Regions from separate parts of the Homo sapiens genome. Here region 2 is linked to region 1. Evidence: promoter capture Hi-C in 16 types of primary human blood cells and fetal thymus (Javierre and others, 2016). All regions are on one chromosome and are shown on one strand. The core of a region is centred on a gene start or on the middle of the fragment in contact, and the rest is flanking DNA. Distances in the headings are between cores, read along the strand shown. Region 1 holds the start of RNF125 (ring finger protein 125). Region 2 overlaps RNF125 (ring finger protein 125).

What was found. Contacts are between HindIII fragments. The CHiCAGO score rates a contact against its expected background, and 5 or more counts as called.
Region 2: a fragment that was not itself captured here is called in contact with the fragment with the promoter of RNF125 in region 1 in 3 of 17 cell types (total CD8 T cells, naive CD8 T cells and activated CD4 T cells); the score reaches 6.5 in total CD8 T cells.

Annotation. Positions count from the first base shown.
Region 1 is chr18:32,014,391-32,021,315 of GRCh38, forward strand. RNF125 (ring finger protein 125) reads left to right here and starts at 4,435. Exons shown (of 6, transcript NM_017831.4): 1 at 4,435-4,637. The coding sequence starts at 4,474. RefSeq lists enhancers at 3,757-4,629, 4,036-4,330, 4,630-5,502, 5,147-5,196 and a silencer at 4,036-4,330. The HindIII fragment of the contact is 17,285 bases long and covers 1-6,925 here.
Region 2 is chr18:32,056,399-32,063,323 of GRCh38, forward strand. All of the region lies in intron 4 of RNF125 (ring finger protein 125), which reads left to right. Among named protein-coding and RNA genes, the nearest start is that of RNF138, 32 kb to the right of the region's middle. RefSeq lists an enhancer at 1,271-1,806. The HindIII fragment of the contact is 699 bases long and covers 3,214-3,912 here.

The sequences.
Region 1 (6,925 bases), core at 3,185-5,684:
GAAATTTAGAAGCCTGAAAAATAGGGAGGAGAGTGAAAGCAGCTAAGACCCCCAAATAGTTACTTTGGGAAACCTTACTGTTGGTCCATCCAATTGTCTCATCTCCTTTCTTGGTATAAGAACCCTATTTATGTTGTTTCAGAGAGCTGAGGTGCCAAGTCCTATGGAATAAATAATAAGTTTAAGCCAATCAGAGTGCTCCCATTCTCTTTTGCTAGTGACTGATTTAGGATGGCAATGGTGCCCAATTTTGACCAATTAGATAGGAAGGGAAGCCTGCAGAGGAAGGCCTCTAGGAAGCGTTTTTCTCCCATGTAAAAGAAGAGAGAGCTACAAGGGGGAAATCTTACCCTTTCCTTTTTGTTTTTGGAGGTTGTGTATAGAATTGACTGTTTCAGCCATAAGGGAGACATGCTGAGGATGGCAAGGGGCTGAGGCTGTGAGGACATAATTGAGCTGCTGAGACATCTCTGGAACTGTTTACACCTGGACTAGTTTGCCATATTCGATAATAAATATCTTTTTTTTTTTTGAGACAGAGTCTTGCTCTGTTGCCCCAGGCTAGAGTGCAGTGACATGATCTTGGCTCACTGCAACCTCTACCTCCTGGGTTCAAGCGAGTCTCCTGCCTCAGCCTCCTGAGTAGCTGGGCTTACAAGTGTGTGCCACCATGCCCGGCTAATTTTTGTATTTTTATTAGAGATGGAGTTTCATCACGTTGGCCAGGCTGGTCTCGAACTCCTGACCTCATGATCAGCCTGCCTCTGCCTCCCAAAGTGCTGGGATTACAGGTGTAAGCCACTGAGCTGGTCGATAATAAATATCCTTACTGAACGAGGCACTTTTAGTTGAATTTCTGATTCCTGCCATCAAAAGTAAGTCTTGCAGGAATTTTTAGATAATATTAAGGATTTGGAATTTAATCCTAAGGATTAGGAGAGCTATTAAAGGATTTTGTGCATGGGGTGACACAAGATGTTTGCTTTTCAAAAGATCACTTTAGTTGCCATGTGGATAATAAACTGGAGAGAGGCAATGATGGATGCGGGTAGAGCAGTTAGGAACTACTGCCATTAAGTCACACAAGAGAATGCAGTGATTTAAAATAAGCGGTGGCTATGGAAATAGAAGAAAATGAGCATGGTGGCTCACGCCTGTAATCCCAGCACTTTGGGAGGCCAAGGCAGGCGGATCATGAGGTCAGGAGTTCACGACTAGCCTGGCCAACATGGTGAAACTCCGTCTCTACCAAAAATATAATAAAATTAGCCGGGTGTGGTGGCATGCGCCTGCAATCCCAGCTACTCAGGAGGCTGAGGCAGGAGAATCACTTGAACCCAGGAGGCAGAGGTTGCAGTGAGCTGAGATTGCGCCACTGCACACTTCCAGCCTGGGCGACAGAGAGAGACTTCATCTCAGAAAAAAAAGAACTACTGAGATACATATTGGAGGCAGGATTGTGATTATGCTTGATTCAATGTGAATGAGGAAGAGGAAGAAATCAAGGATGACTTCCAGGTGTCTAGACTGAGCTATAAAGTGGATCATAGTGCCATTTGCTAAAAGAGAGATCAACCACTGGAGGAGGCTGCTACTATAATGAGTTCATTATTGGAGACATTGGGCTGAGGGTGTTTATGTCAAATGGTCAGTCATGTAAGCTATTAGGCTATTGGACATTTGAATGGCCTGGGGTAGAGATAAAGATGTGAAAGTTTTTGGAACCGAAATAGTGACAGAACCTGTGTGATTTTTGAGAGAAAGAGAAAGAGAGAAAGAGAGAGAGAGGAGAAGGGAAAAGGTCCTAAGACAGAATCCTAGGATCTCCAGCCCAGAGCCAGTGGAGAAGGAGACTCTGGCAAGGGAGAAGAAACAATAGCCAGAAAGAAAGAGGGAAAGTCAGAGTGTTTCCAGAAGGAGGGGATGGTCAGCACTAACAAACATAGTTGAGGGGTCAAGCAAAAAAAATAGCTGAAAAGAATCTATTGGAATTAGTTACATGAACGTCACCAGTGACACTGATAATAAAGCAGTTTTTGGACAGATGGAGGTGGAGAGGTTGGTTCAGAACCCAGACTGGACTGAATAAGAAGTGAATAATTAAGAAATGATGACAAAATGTAGAGGATCAGATCAAGAGATTTGGCCTTGAAGCGGATATGGGGCAGGAGTTGAGGCATAAGTGGGATGAAAGGGAGGTTTTTGTTTTCCTTTTGAAGATGGGAATAACTACCTTTTCATCTTATTTCCCCCCCCCCACCGCCTGCCCCCCACCACCCATGCTCCAGCTCCATAGGTCTTTCCTTTCTTTGGTTCTGCCTCATTCACTGTTCCCAGTCCACGCTTTTTCCTAAATCTTTGAATGGCTCACTTCTTTTCATTATTCATGGCTCTGCTCAAATGTCACTTCATCCAAAAATTCTTCTCTGAGCTTATTCTTCTCCTCATTGCCATTTACTGTTTTATCTTCTTCATGGCTCTGATTATCTGAAATGATTTTGTTCATTTGTTTATGGATTGATTACATGTATCTTCCTTTTGTTTGTTGTTTGTTTTTGAGACAGAGTCTCGCTCTGTTACCCACGATGGAGTGTAGTGGCATGGTCTCGGCTCACTGCAACCTCCACCTCTTGGGTGCAAGTGGTTCTCCTGCCTCAGCCTCCCAAGTAGCTGGGACTACACGCATGTGCCACCACACCTGGCTAATTTTTGTATTTTTAGTACAAAAATTTTTACTAAAGAAATGTATTTCTAGTAGAGACGGGGTTTCACTATGTTGGCCAGGCTGGTCTTGAACTCCTGACCTTGTGATCCACCTGCCTCGGCCTCCCAAATTGCTGGGATTTCAGGCGTGAGCCACTGCACCCAGCCTGTTTTGGTTTTTTGAGACAGGGTCTCCCTCTGTTGCCCAGGCTGGAGTGCAGTGGCATGATCTCGGCTCACTGCAGCCTCCACCTTTCCGGTTCAAGCGATTCTTGTGCCTCAGCCTCCCAAGTAGCTCACACCCAGCTAAGTTTTGTATTTTTAGTAGAGACAGGGTTTCACCATGTTGGCCAGGCTGGTCTCAAACTCCTGACCTCAGGTGATCTGTCCTTCTTGCCTCCCAAAGTGCTGGGATTACAGGCGTGAGCCACTGCCCCGGCTTGGTTTGTTTTTTGAGACATGGTCTCACTCTGTCGCACAGGACGGAGTGCAGTAGTGTGATCTTGGCTCCCGTGCTCAAGTGATCCTCCCACCTCAGCCTCCCAAAGTGCTGAAATTACAGGCGTGAGCCACGGTACCCGGCCTATATCTCCTAATTAAAAGTAAAGCCTGGGTGAAGTTTATGGCCTGCTAAATACGTACATGTATTATATGCGTTATTATATCCCATGTGTTATATTATATATTATTGTATATGTGTATTATATACTATGTACTATTCTTACAACTGTATGTGAATCTATAATTATCTCAAAGTTTTGTTTTTGTTTTTTAAAGTAAGTTCTGTGAGAACTGGGATTTTGTTTGCTTGTTGACGATTGTGTCTTCATCACTAGAACCGAGTCTGGCGTGCAGTGGGCACTAAATAAGTCTTCGTAAAAAGTGTAAATTAACGCCCGGCTAATTTTTGTATTATTAGCAGCGACGGGGTTTCACCATGTTGGCCAGGCTGGTCTCGAACTCCTGCCCTCAAGCAGGAGTTTCAAGCCCGCCTCGGCCTCCCAAAGTGTTGGAATTACAGGCGTGGGCCACCGCGCCTGGCTGATCATGTTTAAAGGGCGGGGTGGGGAGCGTACAAACAACAGAGGAAATCCTGAGCCGCAGAGGAAACTGGAGATGGCAGGGTTTAGCACTAGAATCTCTGTAGGAGAGGTAAGATTGGAATCCTAATCTCCAGGACTCTTTCCACTACCCAGGCTATCTCTCCATTAATGGACTATTGATTGGATGACAGAGTAGCGATAGCACCGTCTTAGGAGACGCCCAATCATAGGTCATAGGTCATTTTTGCAGCTTATTGTGATGACAACAGTGGAGGATGGTCTTCCACTTCACCTTAAAAGCGGCTGTTCTCTGATTATCATTAAGCATGGCCACGCCCGCACTTAACTTCTGACAGTGGGGAAAGCAGCTGTGTGTGATAGCTTGGAAGGTTTACTGCTGCCTCAAGTCCTCTTCTCTGCAGTTGAGGTTTCAGGTTTCAATCCTCCCAATACCACAAGACAGAGCACGGGGCGGCTGCCGCCTCCGCCTCCGCGCCTTAACCTAGGCGGCTTGCCGAAGATCTCAGCCCCGCGGCCGCGCGCTCGCCCTGCCCTAGACCAGGGTTGGGCGCAGCGGCGGAGGTGGCTTCTGGGCTGCGCGAGCTGGGAGAGCTGGGAGGCGGCGATCGCAGCTGGGCCGGGACTTCCTTCCTCCACCGCACGGCAACAAAACAACCCTGCGGCAGGCACTGAGTGCTTCGCAGCTGTCTGGGCGAGAGGCACAGCGATGGGCTCCGTGCTGAGCACCGACAGCGGCAAATCGGCGCCCGCCTCTGCCACCGCGCGGGCCCTGGAGCGCAGGAGGGACCCGGAGTTGCCCGTCACGTCCTTCGACTGCGCCGTGTGCCTTGAGGTGTTACACCAGCCTGTCCGGACCCGCTGTGGCCACGTGTAAGTTCCAGGGGAGCTCGGTTTGCGCCCACCCCTAAGGAGGGCGATGTGGGGAAGCTGAGGGCATGGTGTGGGGAAGGAGGGGGACGGAAGACAGCCTCTTAGGAAATTGCTGCAGGGAGAAACCTGGACCCGTCGGATGCAGGACCACGGGGAAAACGCGGGTCGGAAGGTGACACAGGATTTCGGGAGGAGAAAAAATAAACAAGCGGGTCCTGTAGCCCCCTTGCGCTTTCAGCTCCCGAAGCCCAGGTGCGGAACTCCAGAGAAGGGGATCCAGGCACGGGTCCCGCCCAGAGCCAGGGCTCGCCAACTGGGGAGGGTGCTCTTGGCTGGAGAACCAGCGCTCGCCCAGGCACGGAAAGGAAACGAGCTCCAGCTACAAGGCAGGGGCTCCCGCAAAGCGCAGTTACCCCGCTGAACACGGTAGAACGGGCTGCGCTTCCCTCTGCCCCAGAAACCCGGGTCCGTTTTGTTTTGCTGGAGCTGTGCACGTGTTCCCAGAATGCCCACAGAGGCTCGTCTTAAGCAAACAAGGATCTGTGCAAAGTGTCTTTCCACCCCCACCCCTGCTACCCTTTCCCAACACAGACACCCAGCCCCTCAAAGGGCAAGTCAAACTGGAGCTTCCGAGTGACTTTCCACAGTTGTTAGAGTTTAACAACCTGCTAGGGTGGGGCTTGGACGTTAGCCGCCAAGCCCCTGAATGTACTCCTTCAAAACCCAGCCACAACGTAACAGGAGGTGGCAGGCTACCTGCTTTACGCACGGTCTCTCCAAACCGGCGGAAATTACAGAGTAAAATAACTTTCTCAAAACCGCATAGTACTTAGCTAAAACTCACAGTTGGTGCAAAGCCGTGGTCGTTTCTAAGAAGAATTTAAAAACAAAGTCCCTATATAAAATTGGCACATCCTTAATGTGTGTTTGAATAACTGGTGGAGTTGGAGCTGTGAATTTGTGCTCTCTGTTTACTGTGTGTGTGTGTGTGTGTGTGTGTGTGTGTTTGAGAGAGAGAGAGAGAGACGTAGTCTGGCTCTGTCGCCCAGGCTGGAGTGCGGTGGTGCTATCTCGGCTCACTGCAACCTCCGCCCACTGCAACCTCCGCCTCCCAGGCTCAAGTGAGTCTCCTGCCTCAGCCTCCCGAGTTGCTGGGATTACAGGCGCCCACCCCCACACCCGGCTAGTTTTTGAATTTTGAGTAGAGATGGGGTTTCACCATGTTGGCCAGGCTGGTCTTGAACTCCTGACCTCAATTGATCCACCCACCTCGGCCTCCCAAAGTGCTGGGATTAAAGGTGTGAGCCACTGCACCCAGCCTTCTCTCTTTGCTTTGATTTTTTTTCGTGGATACGTGTGTGTGTGTTGTGTCTGCACAGATCAGGAGCGGAAGCCTACTTAATGTCCTTTGAAGGGTGACTATAGTATGATGAAGCCATGTGTGATACCACAGTGGCTTGTACCAGCATTTGGCTTAGCAGGAAGAAAGAAATACCGTTATTATGAATGCAAGTGCACAACATGTTTTTGAGGACCACTTTTGAAAGGATTTAGGTAGTCCTTAAAAACATGTTGTGCACTTGCAGTCAAAAGTTTTGACGCCCGGCGTGGTGGCTCACACCTGTAATCCTAGCACTTTGGGAAGCCGAGGTGGATGGATCACCTGAGGTCAGGAGTTCGAGACCAGCCTGGCCGACATGGTGAAACCTCGTCTCTACTAAAAATACAAAAATTAGCCAGGTGTGGTGACCCGTGCCTGTAATCCCAGCTACCTGGGAGGCTGAGGCAGGAGAACTGCTTGAACCTGGGAGGCAGAGGTTGCAGTGAGCTGAGATGGCATCATTGCACTCTAGCCCGGGCAACAGAGCAAAACTCAGTCTCAAAAAAAAGAAAGAAAAAAAAGAAAGTTTTGAAAGGACTTAGGTAATCCTTAATACCTATAGCCTTGTATCTGAAAAGCAGTTTTCACTACTGCCCGTCTGTGAGCCAGGGACAAAAGTGTGCAGCCTGCACAATGTATAAATAAAGAGTGCTTTGGGCATTATTTCGTAGCTGTGTTTTCTTTTCTTTTGAGATGGAGTCTTGCTGTGTTGCCCAGGCTGGAGTGCAGTGGCACGATCTTGGCTCACTGCAAGCTCCGCCTCCCGGGTTCACGCCATTCTCCTGCCTCAGCCTCCCGAGTAGCTGGGACTACAGGTGCCGCCACCACGCCCGGCTAATTTTTTTGTATATTTAGTAGAGACGGGGTTTCACCGTGTTAGCCAGGATGGTCTTGATCTCCTGACCTC
Region 2 (6,925 bases), core at 2,313-4,812, 41 kb after region 1:
GTCAGGAGTTCGAGACCAGCCTGACCAATATAGAGAAACCACCCCCCATGTCTACTAAAAATACAAAATTAGCTGGGCATGGTGGCCCATGCCTGTAATCCCAGCTACTCGGGAGGCTGAGGCAGGAGAATCACTTGAACCCAGGAGGCAGAGATTGCGTTGCAGTGAGCCAAGATCACGCCGTTGCACTCTAGCCTGGGCAAAAAGAGCAAAACTCCGTCTCAAAAAAAAAAAAAAAAAAAGACAATTATAGAAAAAAAGATAATAACATTAAACAATAAAAAAGAGCAAAACTCCATCTCAAAAAAAATTTAAAAAAAAGAGCAAAAGGAGTGGGAAGTTTTTCTAATTCTCATGGATTACAGTAGGAGAATGAGAACAGGTGCAAAAGAAACTCAATGCACTTGGCTTTATGCCAACAATGATTTTTTTACACAGCAAAAAATTACAAACCTTCTTCCTTACCTCTCTTCCTCAAGCTTATACATAATAGACATACAGCAGCATTTCTATTTCTACATTATACTTGGGCTGTTTATAGTATTGAGCTAATAAAGATTTTTACACAGTCGTAGAGAAAAGGGTCCTCAGAGGTGATCTAATGTAGCCTCCCTCTCAAGGTGATAAGTAACTTACTGTGTGAGTGCTTGAAGTTTTCCAGAATGGTAACCCAGTTATTACAAGGATTTTGTTTCTACACCTTTCAACATCTTAATTTCCCTTCTGTGTCTATTGCAGTTTATTGATGTTTTCCTTACCCAGCACTTAAAATAGAACACAGCACTCCAAGAATGGTCAGTGAATGCAGAACAGAGGAAACAACCATTATTCTAGATAATTGAATGTTATCCATACAGCACTGTACTAGCTTTTTTATGATTGAGTCATATTTCTGGCCTAATTATGATTCTCAGTAAAATAGAACCCCAAATGACTTTTTTTTTTTTTTTTCTGAGACGGAGTTTTGCTGTTGTTGCCTAGGCTGGAGTGTAGTGGCGCGATCTTGGCTCACTGCAACCTCTGCCTCCCGGGTTTAAGCGATTCTCCTGCCTCAGTCTCCCGAGTAGCTGGGATTATAGGGGCATGCCTCCACACCTGGCTAATTTTTATATTTTTAGTAGAGACGGAGTTTCTCCATGTTGGTCAGGCTGGTCTCAAACTCCTTACCTCAGGTGATCTGCCCACCTCAGCCTCCCAAAATGCTGGGATTACAGGCATGAGCTACCGCGCCTGGTCCAAATGACTGTTTTTTTTATAGGTACTGGAGTTAAGAAAGGTGTTCTCCATTACAGCCTAGGTATTAGATTTAGAATTTCTCATTTGTTCGCCTACTATTTTATCTTGTTTCTCTGAAAGAAATTATATTGTCTTTAAGGCGGTTGTTCTCAAACTTTATCATGCATGAGAATCATCTACAAGACCTGTTTAAACATAGATTGCTGGCCTCTGCCCCTAGAGTGTCTGATAAAATAGGTCTGAGCTAGGGCCTGAAAATTTGCATTTCTAACAAGTTACCAGATGGTGACAATGCTGCTGGTCTGAGGACCCCACGCTGAGAACCATTGCTTCCTTTAAAGCGCTAAAGTGGCCAGGCACCGTGGCTTATGCCAGTAGTCCCAGCATTTTATGAGGCCAAAGTGGGAGGGTTACTTAAAGCCAGGAGTTTGTGGTTACAGTGAGCCATGATCATACCATTGCACTCCAGCCTGGGTGACAGAGTGAGACCCCATCTCTAAAAAAAAAAAAAAAAAAAAAAATTAAAGGGCAAGTGAGAAGTATGACCATATATGTACTTTCAATTTTTGTGGATGCATAGTAGGTGTATATATTTATGGGGCACATGAAATACTTTGATACAGGCATGCAGTGTGTAATAATCACATCAGGGTAAATGGCATACCCATCACCTTAAGCATTTATCCTTTCTTTGTGTTACAAACAATCCAATTATACTCTTTTTTTTTTGAGAGGGAGTCTCGTTCTGTCGCCCAGGCTAGAGTGCAGTGGTGCGATCTTGGCTCACTGTGACCTCCGCCTCTCAGGTTCAAGGGATTCTCCTGCCTCAGCCTCCCAAGTAGCTAGGACTACAGGCTCATGTGACCACACCCAGCTAATTTTTGTATTTTTAGTAGAGACAGGGTTTCACCACGTTGGTTAGGCTGGTCTCAAACTCCTGACCTCAGGTGATCCACCCACCTTGGCCTCCCAAAGTGCTGGGATTTCAGGCGTGAGCCCCTGTGCCTGGCCTATACTCTTAAATGTACAATACATTATTGTTGACTTTAATTGCCCTGTTGTGCTATGAAATGCTAAATCTTATACATTCTATCTAACTATATTTGTGTACCCATTAACCATGCCCACTTCCCCCAATCCCCACTACCCTTCCCAGCCTCTGGTAACCATCATTCTACCCTCTATCTCCATGAGTTCAATTGGTTTAATTTTTAGCTCCCACAAATAAATGAGGACATGTGAAGTTTGTCTTTCTGTGCTAGGCTTATTTCACTTAACATAATGTCCTCCAGTTCCATCCATGTTGTTGCAAATGACAAAATCTCATTCGTTTTTATGACTGAATGGTACTCCATATGTACCATGCTTTCTTTACCCACTTGTCTGTTGCTGGACACTTAGGTTGTTTCCAAATCTTGACTATTCTGAATAGTACTGCAATAAAAATGGGAGTGCGGATATTTCTTGAATATACTGATTTCCTTTCTTTGGGGAATATACCTGGGAGTAGGATTGCTGGATCATATGATAGTTTGATTTTCAGTTTTTTGAGGAACCTCTAAATTCTTCTCCGTAGTAGTTGTACTAATTTACATTCCCACCACCCGTGTATGAAGTTTCCCTTTTCTCCACATCCTCGTCAGCATCTGTTATTGTGTGACTTTTGGATAAAAACCATTTTACCTGCGGTGAGATGATATCTCATTGTAGTTTTGATTTGCATTTCTCTGATGATCAATGATGCTGAGCACTTTTTCATATGCCTATTTGCCATTTATATGTCTTCTTTTGAGAAATGTCTGTTTAAATCGTTTGCCTGTTTTAAATTGAATTACTAATTTCTTTTCCTGTAGAGTTGTTTGCACTCCTTATATATTCTGGTTATTAATCCCTTGTCAGATGAGGAGTTTGCAAATATTTTCTCCCATTCTGTGGGTTGTCTCTTCACTTTATTGATTGTTTCCTTTGCTGTGCTGAAGCTTTTGGATGTGATTCCATTTGTCCATTTTCGCTTTGGTTGCCTGTGTTTGTGGGGTATTATTCCAGAAATCTTTGCCCAGATCAATGTCCTGGAGAGTTTCTCCAATGTTTTCTTTTAGTAGTTTCATAGTTTGAGGTCTTAGATTCAAGTTTTTAATCCATTTTGATTTGATTTTGACTATTTTTTTTTAATTTGATACTATCTTGACCAGCATTGAATAATCTATATCCTAAGGATTTAGAGGAATAATTATCCTTTCAAAAGAATCTTCCTCATCTGATCAAAAATGGAAAGAAACATCTGTTTCCACCCACATCAAGTGTTGTTTTGTTTCAATCCTATTAAAGCAGCCTTGGTCAGGAGATCTTTCCCCTTTTCCTAGCAAGAGGATTTCTTTGGTCCTCAATTTGGTCATTTGTAAAACAAAGGTAGAGAAAATCTACTCAATGATTTTGGTTATTTTTGGCTTTATGGTTTCTTGAAAAGAAAGAACAATAAATGAAGATTCATTGCATAGAAAGGGCCTATTTGGAGTCAACATGCTCAAGGCCAGGAAATAGAAACCACAGGGCTAAGGGGATCAACTGAAGGCATCAGTAGGATGAGGTGAAGCTCTTCTAAGCTGCCAGGTCACAAATCAGGACAGGCAGATGTCCGGTCCCTGACACACTGGCCTGCACAGTGAATGGGCTGTAAGCTTATCCACTAAAGACCTGTCATTGTTGCGGGTGGGTTGGTGGGAGCATAAGGACATGATAATATCACCATGTCTAGTAAGTGGGAGGCTAATCTTAGAAACAGTTTTCAATTCTTTGAAGTTGGTAGTAGCTTCTAATATGGTAGCTATTATTTGCCCATTGCATTCACCATCAGAAAAAGCCCATACAGAGATGAAGCCAGCATATTTTGAATGTACACTGTATAGTTGTTGGCTCTTAATATAAGTAGTATAGCCTGGGAGCATTGAGTAGAGACAAGTAAGAAAGGATGAGCTGATGTTAGGAAATGGACAACATTGAGTATAAGTCAATACTTAGGTAATCTTCAGTCTGTCTCTCACCTACCATTTCTTTCTCCTTCCTATTCTTACCCTCTCTTCCCTCAGGTTTAATCTCCCAATTTAAGAAACAAAAGAAGTTTTTCCACTAGTACCGACTTCAGCCCATTGTTTTGCAATGTCGTTTTGACAGATGTGTCTTTAGTCACACAATTAAATTTTATGTTGACCAGAGACTGAAGACTCCACTAGTTGCCTATTAACGTCAGACTAACAATGGCTTGCACCTGTAATCCTAGCTACTCAGGAGGCTGAGGCAGGAGAATCTCTGGAATCTGAGAGTTCAAGGCCAGCCTGGTCAACAAAGTGAGATCCCGTTTCAAAAACAAAACAAAACAAAATCTTGTTTGCTTAAAATTCTAGTTTTTTTTTCAGACAGTCTTGCTCTGGCGCCCAGGCTGGAGTGCAGTGGTGCGATCTCGGCTCACTGCAAGCTCCGCCTCCTGGGTTCACGCCATTCTCCTGCCTCAGCCTCCCAAGTAGCTGGGACTACAGGCACCCGCCACCACACCCGGCTAATTTTTTGTATTTTTAGTAGAGACAGGGTTTCACCGTGTTAGCCAGGATGGTGTCGATCTCCTGACCTCATGATCCGCCCACCTTGCCCTCCCAAAGTGCTGGGATTACAGGCGTGAGCCCCCGTGCCTGGCCTAAAATTCCAGGTTTTCTGTATTTGTCTTCTCCACTAGACTCTAATCAGCTCCTTATTGGTAGGGACCAAGGTAACAGACATCTCTGTACCTCTGACTCCTTGCATCAAGTCTACCAAAACCATGTCAGGTGCTTGAATAAATATGGAGCAGAGCTAGTTCCAACTTATCATTCCAAACTCATCCCCTACCACTTCCCCAACTTTCCCTACCTTCAGTTACACTGAGGTTTTTCCATTGCCCTAAGCAGGCCTCTTTCTTTTAGGATTTACTGCCTTTTCCCACGTTGATTCCTCTGCTGTGATGCTCCTCCCTGCTGGCCTGGCTGGCTCATTCTTCAAGACCCACTTCAGTTACCAGCAGCTCTGCTGGAGCCTTTCCGAACCCTTGGGCAAAATTAGTAATTCCCTTTACAGATCTTGAACAGTTGTCTGTTCACATCTTGAGTATGGCACTTGATACACTATTGAAAGTATCTGCTTAAGTGATAATAATGGCAGCTAAAGACTGAGCTAATATAATGACTGAGCTTTATAATAGTAAATGGTGTATTATTTTAAATCTAACAGCTCTGAGACACAGAACATCAGCGAGAGGCTGAAATGAAATCGGAAACTATTTTCTGGGTACTAAGAATGTAGGGATCAACTAGACACATGGTAGTTTCTTCCCTCAGGGAGCCCCAACTCTTCAAGGACAGGGATCAAATAGTAGTAAATATGTGGCATTTATTGAATGTTTGATGTTTACCTGGCACACTGAAGACATTATCTGTAAATATTACAGCTACTCTACAAGGCAGGTGTTATTATCTCCATTTCACAGAAGGGGAAACTTATATGCTCAAGATCACACTGCTGGTGCTAGGATTTGAACCCAAAGTATCTAACTTCAAAGTATCCTACTGATCTCTATATTCTAAGTGCGGAACACGTAGTAGGGGCATAATAAAGAGTGTTGGATGAACAAATTTCTATAAGCAGGTTCCTTCTCCCACACTACAAATATTAATAGTGCTCTTTTGTTGAAATATTTCTTGGTCTCAGCTCTGTTCTCATTATACATAGTGGCATCAGGGAAAATTAAATGCTGTCTTGGAATGACCAGTAGTGCCAATTAACCAAGAACATTAGGAAATTGTAAATGATTATAATTCAACAATAATTAATTAAAAGGATGTAATTTTACTAAAAATAAGATGTAAAAATTAGCGAAGTTGAGCAAAATTCAGAAATAGACCTTTAATTATAGAAATTGAGCATATTGAAACTGAGATCCTCATAAAACAATAAGAAAGAAAAGAAATATATAAAGACCTCATTTAAATAAAGAAAAACATTATCACCCAAGTTGATAAATTGGACACTGTTAGAATGTGAAAAGAACATTGGAGGATCAGCGACATTGATTCCAGATCTGATACTTACAGCTGAGTAAATTCAAGCTATTTTTTTTTCTCTCTGAAATTGGGCTCATCAACAAAATAAGGATAGCAATTAATTCACTGAGTTGTTGTGAGGATCAAATGAGAATACTACCTAATTTACTACCTAACAACACATACTTGGCACTCAGTAATAAGTCTGCATCTCATACTTTAAAAAATGAATACATGGGCCGGGTGGGGTGGCTCATGCTTGTAATCCCAGCACTTTGGGAGGCAGAGGTGGGTAGATCACCTGAGGTCAGGAGTTCGTGACCAGCCTGGCCAAAATGGTGAAACCCTGTCTTTACTAAAAATACAAAAATTAGCTGGGCATGGTGGTGGGCGCCTGTAATCCCAGCTACTTGGGAGGCTGAGGCAGGAAAGTTGCTTGAACCCAGGAGGCGGAGGTTGCAGTGAGCCAAGACCATGCCATTGCACTCCAGCCTGGGCAACAAGAGCAAAACTCAAAACTCCATTTCAAAAAAAAAAAAAAAAAGAAGAATACATGAATAAATATAATTTTAAAAAAGTGAACCTTTGTTAAAATGTGATAAAGTAATATATGTTAAAAGAGT